2 separate regions of the Homo sapiens genome follow, and region 1 is linked to region 2. Evidence: promoter capture Hi-C in human tissues and cell types (Jung and others, 2019). All regions are on one chromosome and are shown on one strand. Each heading gives the region's core, a stretch centred on a gene start or on the middle of the fragment in contact. The rest is flanking DNA. Distances are from core to core; before and after follow the strand shown.

Region 1 (3,986 bases), core at 1,294-3,793, 76 kb after region 2:
TGCCACGAGGGGCTGGCTCTGGATGACCTGCTCCTCTGGGCCCTTCCGACGCTGCACCTAGAGCCAGACCCCAGGCTTCCTCGCTGCCAGAGAAGGGGAGCGCTGGGAGCTGGGGATCCTTGGGAGGGTTTTATTTTTTATTTTATTTATTTATTTATTTTTTCTGAGGCGGTGTCTCGCTCTGTCGCCCAGGCTGGAGTGCAGTGGCGCCATCTCGGCTCACTGCAAGCTCCACCTTCCGGGTTCATGCCATTCTCCTGCCTCAGCCTCCTGAGTAGCTGGGACTATAGGTGCCCGCCACCACGCCCAGCTAATTTTTTGTATTTTTAGTAGAGATGGGTTTCACCGTGTTAGCCAGGATGGTCTCGATCTTCTGACCTCGTGATCCGCCCGCCTCGGCCTCCCAAAGTGCTGGGATTACAGGTGTGAGCCACTGTGCCTGGGAGTGTTTTAAATCTCAGGTCTTCAAACAGAAATCCTGAGAACATCAGAAAATGTTGGTGTCTCCTGGAGACCAGGTATTTTTTTCTCATGATTCTCCCTGCTCTGTAATTCCCACTGCTCATTTCTCTCCACATTGCTCCACGGGTGTCTTTTGAGAGTACACATATGGCAGGTGCTGCTCTGGGCAGGATACAAAGATCAGAGGGGCAGTGTTCTGGCCTCAGGGCTCTCACACGTGGGGGTTGGACTGTTCAGCTGTCTAAAACACAGCCCATAATAAATATAATAACAAATGTTTAAACCAAGTGCTAGGAAACTGGGGCGGGGACGGGGGAGAACTAGATTGACTAGTGCCTGGAATGAGAGTGGGGCCAGGTGGGGAGGTGGTGAGACTGCATGGTGAGCTTTGGGAACCCCTGGGAGGGGGGCAAGTTACAGTGTGATGGTGAGAAGGATGGTGGAAATGTCAGAGTTGCAGGGCTTGTGGCTGGAGGTAAGATTGGGAAGTCAGGTTGCTCAGGGTTTCTTGAAAGATCTTTACAAAGAGCCAAGAATGAGTCTTGTGCATGTTAACTTGCTATAAAACATGCCTCCTAATTGAGTAACCCCATGCTGCCTGCATATTTGTGAGGAAGGAAATAATTCCACTGATTGGCCATGGAGAAGTACAAAGAGGGCTGAGGCAAGGGGTGCAGATGTCTACAAGAAGGTGGGCAGTGTGGACTAGAGAGGGCGAGTGCTCGCCAGGCAACCCCTTCCTGAACAGTGTGTGCTTTGAAATGTGCGTAGGAGCGTGTGAAAAGTACAAATTATTCTCTCTCTGCTGTGGTCTGGGCTACTGCCATTTGCGTTAGGAGGTCTCCGCAGAGAGATGACGGCACCTGTAATGGCCTTGTGATGCTACCTGCCAGTCCCTGGCCTGTTTTCTGCACCTGGAAACAGACAAGTATGGTGTTGATGGTGGGAAGTTTCCAAGGCGATTTGTGGGATTCTTGGTCACCTTGAAAAAATGCAGTAGTGGAATGATCATAGGACTTTGGGTTGGAGAACTGCTCAGAGAACTCTCCACCCACCAGCCTTGACCATGTTCAGTTTCTTCTCCCGGTCTAAGTGTCCTCACATGGAAAATGTGGCCAGTGAAGCAGATGGTCTCAAAGAGCCTGTCCTGGTCTCTAATACCCTGGACCGAGTTACTGCCTGGTTTGCTGAAGAGTTATTCCATCAGTGATTAAAGAACTTGGTAGTTGGTAGGATATGGAGGTGGGGAAGGGTTAAAATAATTTCTTAGAGGCTTATTCTTTGCACACTTCTTTTCATGTTCTGATAAGCATAGCTGTTGTTTTCATAACCTGCCATTGGATTCTGTGGGGCTGACTAGTAATCTCATTCTAAACAGAATAGGCCTGTCTTTAATCACAAGAAAACAGCAAAGGAGTCCCAGAGGTCAGCACAGTCATTTGCTGGGCTCAGATTGCCAGCATTCTTTTTGTTCTCTGAAAATGAAGCTTTAAGGGACATGGCTTACAGCCAAATACAGGCAAGACACATTCTGTTAGTCGCAGGAGGAAAACCATGTCGAAACGAAAAGTCCATATTGGTGGTAGTTTTTTGAGAGCTACACCACAACCCCCAAAATTGACCTCTAAAGTGACAACAGTAAGACCTGGATAATCCTGCACATTCCTAGTGCCACCACAACCCAGTGAGATTAACAAAAGACTCATGGAACCAAACTTCATCCCCAAAGTATTCAGGTCCGCTGGGCTGCTGAAGGGGAGCAGCACTGGTGTCTGGGTGTGGCATCTGAACCTTTGCTTCCAGAACACCAGCATCGTCACATTTCTCAGAGAAAGCAATTTGCCTTGAGACAGTTCCATTGTGAGTGGAAGAGACAAGGGTGCATTGTTCACCAGACAATGCCTGAAGTAAGGATTATGCAAAATGGACTCTTGACCTCTCTATTCCAAATAAGTGGGAGACTCTGTAGTTTCCATAAAGCTTGTATTGAGCTAAATGATGTGACTTGGATGTAGCATCCTTTGTCTAATCGGATACCAAAATGTTAAGCACCTATTTGTGAAAGACTGGATATTACACTTTGACAGAGGTGTCAGGCTCTGTTAATTGGTATCGTGGATGCTCATTATTGGCAGATTCCATATTTGCGAGTCTGCTTACTTGCTAAAATTTATGTCCTCAAAATGAATACCCATGATACTTTTGTAGTCATTCAACGGGTATGTGTAGAGTAGCAAAGAATTTGAGTCACTTGACAAGTCTGTTCCCTGTCGAACAAAGCAACACTCTGCCTTCTTGTTCCAGCTCTCATACTGTAAACAAGTGTCTTTTTCACTATTTAGTGCCATTTTTTTTTTTTGCATTTGTGTGCTTTTTCATGGTGCTTTTGCTGTTTCAAATGGCCCCCAAGTGTAGTGCTGCAGGACTGTGTTCTAAGCGCAAGAAGGCTGTGATGTGCCTTTTGGAGAAGATACCTGTTAGACAAACTTGTTCAGCCATGAGTTCTAGTGCCATTGGCCTTGAGTTCAATGTTAATCAACAGTATGTAGTAAACGTCTTTAAAACGAAACACACATAAAACAAGCTCACGGATTGATGGGTTGACATAAGCGTTGTGACCAAAGGCTAACCTAACCCTGTATTTCCCCTAGGAGCGATAATTCAGGGTTCTCTAAGTCAGTGTTGATGGCAACTTTAAAGAACACAACTACTGCAGATAACAAGAATAGGCTCTATTTGATGCAGGAATTTTGCTTAGTTTTCTGCTGAGGGTCTTTTTGACATCTTTCTGTAAATCTCCAACTTTTACCTGCAAAAAAGGGGAGTTTGATTCCCACCATTTTTCTTACTCTGCTTGTCTTGTCTGTCTCCCACCATCCTGCCTCCTCTTCTCATGCACACAAACTTTCATCCTCCACCATCTCCCGTCCACTAGGCAACTATGACATCTGCATGAGCAAGGGGCCTTCTCTTTGAAAGGAGCCCTTAGAAAAGTACCTTGGCAGAGAATTTGGTGATGTGGCCAGAAAGAGCCAGACTGTACTAGGAGAGCCTGGATGCAGTACTCCTGTTACCTTCCAGCCTCAGGAACAGGCAGATTGGATGGGGTTTAGTGAGGCCAAGGAAAGGGATAATTAGTAAGTATAGCAACTCTCCTCTGCAGGCACCATGACAGCTCAGGAGTTTTCAAATACTCTCCAAATACATTTTAATTACTTTTAAAACACCAGCAAAGGGTCATTCACAAAGCAAAATCACAGGGGATTTTAAAGGCGCTGATTTTATAAAGTTAGCAGTTAAATGTTTTAAAAGCTTGTTCCTCTTCCATATATCTTACCAGATCTAAAAATAATATGAAGAAGTTATTTATAAATGTGGCTAAGTAAAATGCTAAAGAAATCTCTGTTAACCGCTCTGTTAACCCAAATGGTTTTGGGGTTAAATCTCTGTTCTGGCAAGCATGACGCTGTAACAGTGAGTGTCCTCACCTTGTAGCGCTATTCGTACTCCCTTTCCTTTCCTAA
Region 2 (3,935 bases), core at 344-2,843:
CTTTATTCAGGACCAACGCGATGGGTACAGGGATCAGGGAAACCCGGGGAGAGAGAGTGGGCTCCAATTCTGAATGCAGCGTCGGCAAGTAGAAATTTATGGCCATGTAAAATCACTAAGAGTAACCATCGGGGGAAGAGGGATTCTGGCTCAACCGATCTAAAGGATTCTTGTAGAACTCAGGCCAGGGTGAAAAGACATGACTGGGGGATAGAGGAAGATGAGGAACCTGATCTGCTATGAGGGGATGGGGGTTCTGTGCTAGAACTGGATTTTACAAGGAAGTGCACAGATGGGCCTAGCATGAGATTCAGAAGCCTGACTAAAGTTTGGCCAAGCAAAGAATCTTTGTCACCTCAGGGCTGTTGTGAGAATTTTAGGAGACACATCCACCAGCCTTGGCATGGGGCCTGATGCAGAGTAAGTGTTCACTAAACTTTACCTATTAACGTTAAAGCACTTTAAGTTGACAAACACTCCACGTACAGAGCTTTTAATGGGGCAAACAAGGGGCAGAGGCCTCAGCTGCAGGGTACTCAACCTCTAAGGAAGGGCGCTGGAGAAAACTGCACTTGCAGAGCCCCTGGCTGGAGGGCGGAGAACCATGTGGGTGTAAAGGGATGGCAAGGGCAGAACGTATGCCCCTGCCCACCTTAGACAGTTGCTAAAGGGTCTCCCAGGCACTCAGCCTAGCCTTTAAGTGAAAGCGGAGGAAACATTTAAAGAAATGAGATAGAGTTAAGGTGTTCGCCTGCCCTCCGCTGAAACACGTGGGGGCAGGTCAGGGGCACACCACAAATGCCCGTATCGCGCCTGTGTGTACCAGGCACCGTCCTCGGAGGTTAACGTGCAGTAACTCACTCGGGTCCCCACTTTCGGCACAGGCAGCAGGCCCAAGGTCACGCAGTGCCAAGGGACTGAGTCAGACCCGAGCCCGCGCGCCGCGGCCCACGGCCTGTGCCAGCGCGCTCCTCGCCGGGTAGGGGGCCTGGTCAGCCGCGTCAGACCTGAGAGTTGTGGCTGGGGGCGAGAGCTGCACCCCCCTACCGACCCCGGGCGGGAATGTTCCAGAACCCCTGCGAGCAGCCGTTGGCCGCACAGCCCCCGGGCCGGCCGCGACCCCGCCTTGCGCCGCGAAGGTCCCTAGCTCCGGGGAGTCGCGGGCGAGGGGCACGCGCACGGACGAGACCGCACCGCAGCGCACGCGCACTGGCGGGCACTCACTCGCCCGCCGCCCGGGAGGAGAAGGAAGGCATGGAAAGTTCCAGCCGGTTCGAGAGCTAGGTAGCAGGCATGGCAGGAGGCGGGGTAGGGGCAGGCAGGGTCGCGAGGGGGCGTGCGGCCGCCGCGAGCCGCTCTGGGCCGCGTCTGCAGCACCGCCCCTAGCCGCGGCCGGCGGGCTGGGCTGGGGTCGGGGCGGGGGCGGTGCGGCGGGTGCGGGGCTGCGGAGGGGGCGTGGCGGCCGCCCGCGGGCGGAGAGGGGGCGGGGCGGCGGCAAGGCGCGCGGGCGGGGCGGGGCGCGCCGAGGGGGCGTGGCGCGGCGTCTGCGCAGCTGCCAGCGCCTTTAAGCCCGGGCTCGCGCTCTCGGACCGTGCTTTCGCCGCCTGGGAGCCGTCCGGCGCAGCAGTTTCTAGGTCCCCACTGTCCCCGCCGTCCCGCCCCTTCGCGTCCCGGGAACCGGCTGGCTTCCGAGCCGCACTCGCCGATCCTCCAGGCATGCCCCGCTACGAGCTGGCTTTAATCCTGAAAGCCATGCAGCGGGTAAGTGACCTTCCCTCAGAGCCGGTCTTCCCGCGCGGGCGCCCCCGCTGCCGCTAGGCCGCCGTCCCCCGCGCGCCCTGGCCGCGGGACCCCGGGCCTTCCTGCACTCCTCGGAGGAGGCCGGGGCGGCGGGCGGGCGGCGGGCGTCCGCGGGAAGGGGGCGCGCGTGGGCCGGCCGGGCCCGGCCGCGTGCGCGCGGGAGGCGGGGGTGTGCCTGCGCGTGTGCGCGGTCCGGGAGGGTGTGCCTCGCAAGCGGCCCGCCGGGCGGGGGGCGGGGCGGACCGAGCGGGCCCCGACCCCGATCCCGGCGCCGGCCCGCGGGAGTCCAGTGGAAGGTCCGCGGGAGGACACGCGCGGGCGCCCAGCCCGACTCCGGCCCGTCCCCGCCAGTCGTGAAGCTGCCTCGTCGCCGGCCCCGCCGCCGCCGCCTGGTCCGTCCCGCTCCGCCGCCCGCCGGCTGCCGCCGACCGCCTCCGCTCTAGCGCCCGCCGGCCGCCCGGAACGTCCGCGCCCAATAAAGCGTTCCTCCAAAGCTTGTTTGTGCCGTTGTCTGTATTCCAGTCTCTTGCAATCGCTCTCATGTTAAAAAAAAATCTTTTGACTTTTCTTTTTCTGACTTCAGCGAAAATCCCGCTCCGGGTGCCCTTAGCCCAGTTTCATTCATCCAAGTTGTGGCCTTTCTTGCGCCTCCAGAAGACACTTTCTTCCCCCTGCTTTTGATTGATCTTGAGGTAGGGGATTTCAGGTTTGGAGGGATGCTAAGCGAACCAGCGGCCCCTTTCAGGTGACGGCGTGGCCAAGGACAGGGGCCCGCGGCCCGGAGGCAGCTCACTTCGTCCTCTGTCCTGGGTCATGTACTCCTCAAGTCGTCGCCGAAATCCCCATTCTCCCGTGAATTCGGAATTCGGTAACGTAGTTTGGTGTTATGTTTTTTTTTCTCCACCAGGTGTAATAAAACAAAAATCATTGTACCACGTCCGAACTTTGTAAGCACAGCTTCCTACAGCGCTAGAGGAGTGGACGCATTTTTACGTTTGAAATTAGGCTCCAGGTCAATTGCGAGGAGTATTACCAAGTTTGGTTGAACTTAAGCTCAATTGATAAACTAACAATCACGGAGCGTCGGGAGATTGTTAGGAAGTGTGCTTTGCATATTGTTAACTGGGAAGGGACGCCAGTGCCTCTCTATGAGGTCCAGACAGCCTGGCCAGGCATGCCATTGTGTCCCCCAGCTTGTTCTTCATGGATTTGGAAGAAGTTAAGATAGTATCTGTTCAGCCTCTTGAATATCCCTTTTGGCCCTCCTCCTTGCTTACCAGCATATGTAACTCCGAAAGGATAGGAGCAGTGAAAACAAAGCATTATTAAAAGGGAAGATTTTTAATTAGGTGGAAGTTGTTTAAGCCCTCCCTTCAACTTACGTGTTTTAGGGAATGTGGAACCTGGGAAATTCGTTACTGAAATTCCTTTTGTTTACTTTCCTTGTCTTGGGGAGGTAGCAGGTGACACTGAAAGAGGCAACCTGTAGGCAATAATATTTGCTCATTCTGTAACCCTTTGAAACCTTTGAAATGAAGACTTGCCCTCCCCTTTGTTTTTGCCATAGTTGCCAAGTATCTTGGTTAACATGGCTGCAAGTATTAAGTGTATTTCTTTTACCATTTTTTTTTATGTCCTGTAATAACATAGCCTTTGGATGTGGAGCACCCATTTTTCACTCTAGTTCAGATCAACAGAGCGTAATTTGGTTAAAATAATAAATAACCTTCCTTGAAATCTTCGCATGAGGGAAGGGGGGCAAAAAAAAGAAAAAAAGCCCTAGAAAGTAGATAATAAAGGTGAACTGCCTCTTGGAGAAAGAGGCCCCATGGCAGTAGATAGAAGGTTGTAACAGTGGTGACTTATGTACAATGGCGAAGTTATGTTGAGGAGATCCTTGACCTAAATAAAGTAATATTAAACAATAGCTTCTCAGTTATTTGTTCAAAAACCTATCTGTAGCTTGTAAATGTGGCACAAACACAAAGACTTCCAGGTTTTAGACCAGTTTGCTTGCTTTCAGTTTAGGAAAATAGGATTCTAAAATAGGATGAATGTTTGGGGGGAAACGAATTTAAAAAGTTAACTCTAGGCTTATGAAATGAAAAATGCGACTGTGAGCTTGCACACCGGTA

What was found. The method cuts DNA at HindIII sites, captures the fragments that hold promoters and counts their contacts. A contact is called where the count stands out against the background at its distance.
Region 1: a fragment that was not itself captured here is called in contact with the fragment with the promoter of MRPS6 in region 2 in 9 of the 25 tissues and cell types used here (IMR-90 fibroblasts, adrenal gland, dorsolateral prefrontal cortex and 6 more).

Annotation. Positions count from the first base shown.
Region 1 is chr21:34,146,698-34,150,683 of GRCh38, forward strand. No RefSeq gene overlaps it. Among named protein-coding and RNA genes, the nearest start is that of LINC00310, 32 kb to the right of the region's middle. The HindIII fragment of the contact is 3,436 bases long and covers 826-3,986 here.
Region 2 is chr21:34,071,985-34,075,919 of GRCh38, forward strand. MRPS6 (mitochondrial ribosomal protein S6) reads left to right here and starts at 1,594. Exons shown (of 3, transcript NM_032476.4): 1 at 1,594-1,761. The coding sequence starts at 1,717. It overlaps SLC5A3 (solute carrier family 5 member 3), which reads left to right and starts at 1,594. Exons shown (of 2, transcript NM_006933.7): 1 at 1,594-1,761. RefSeq lists silencers at 1,042-1,561, 1,852-2,251 and an enhancer at 1,505-2,455. The HindIII fragment of the contact is 15,607 bases long and covers 1-3,935 here.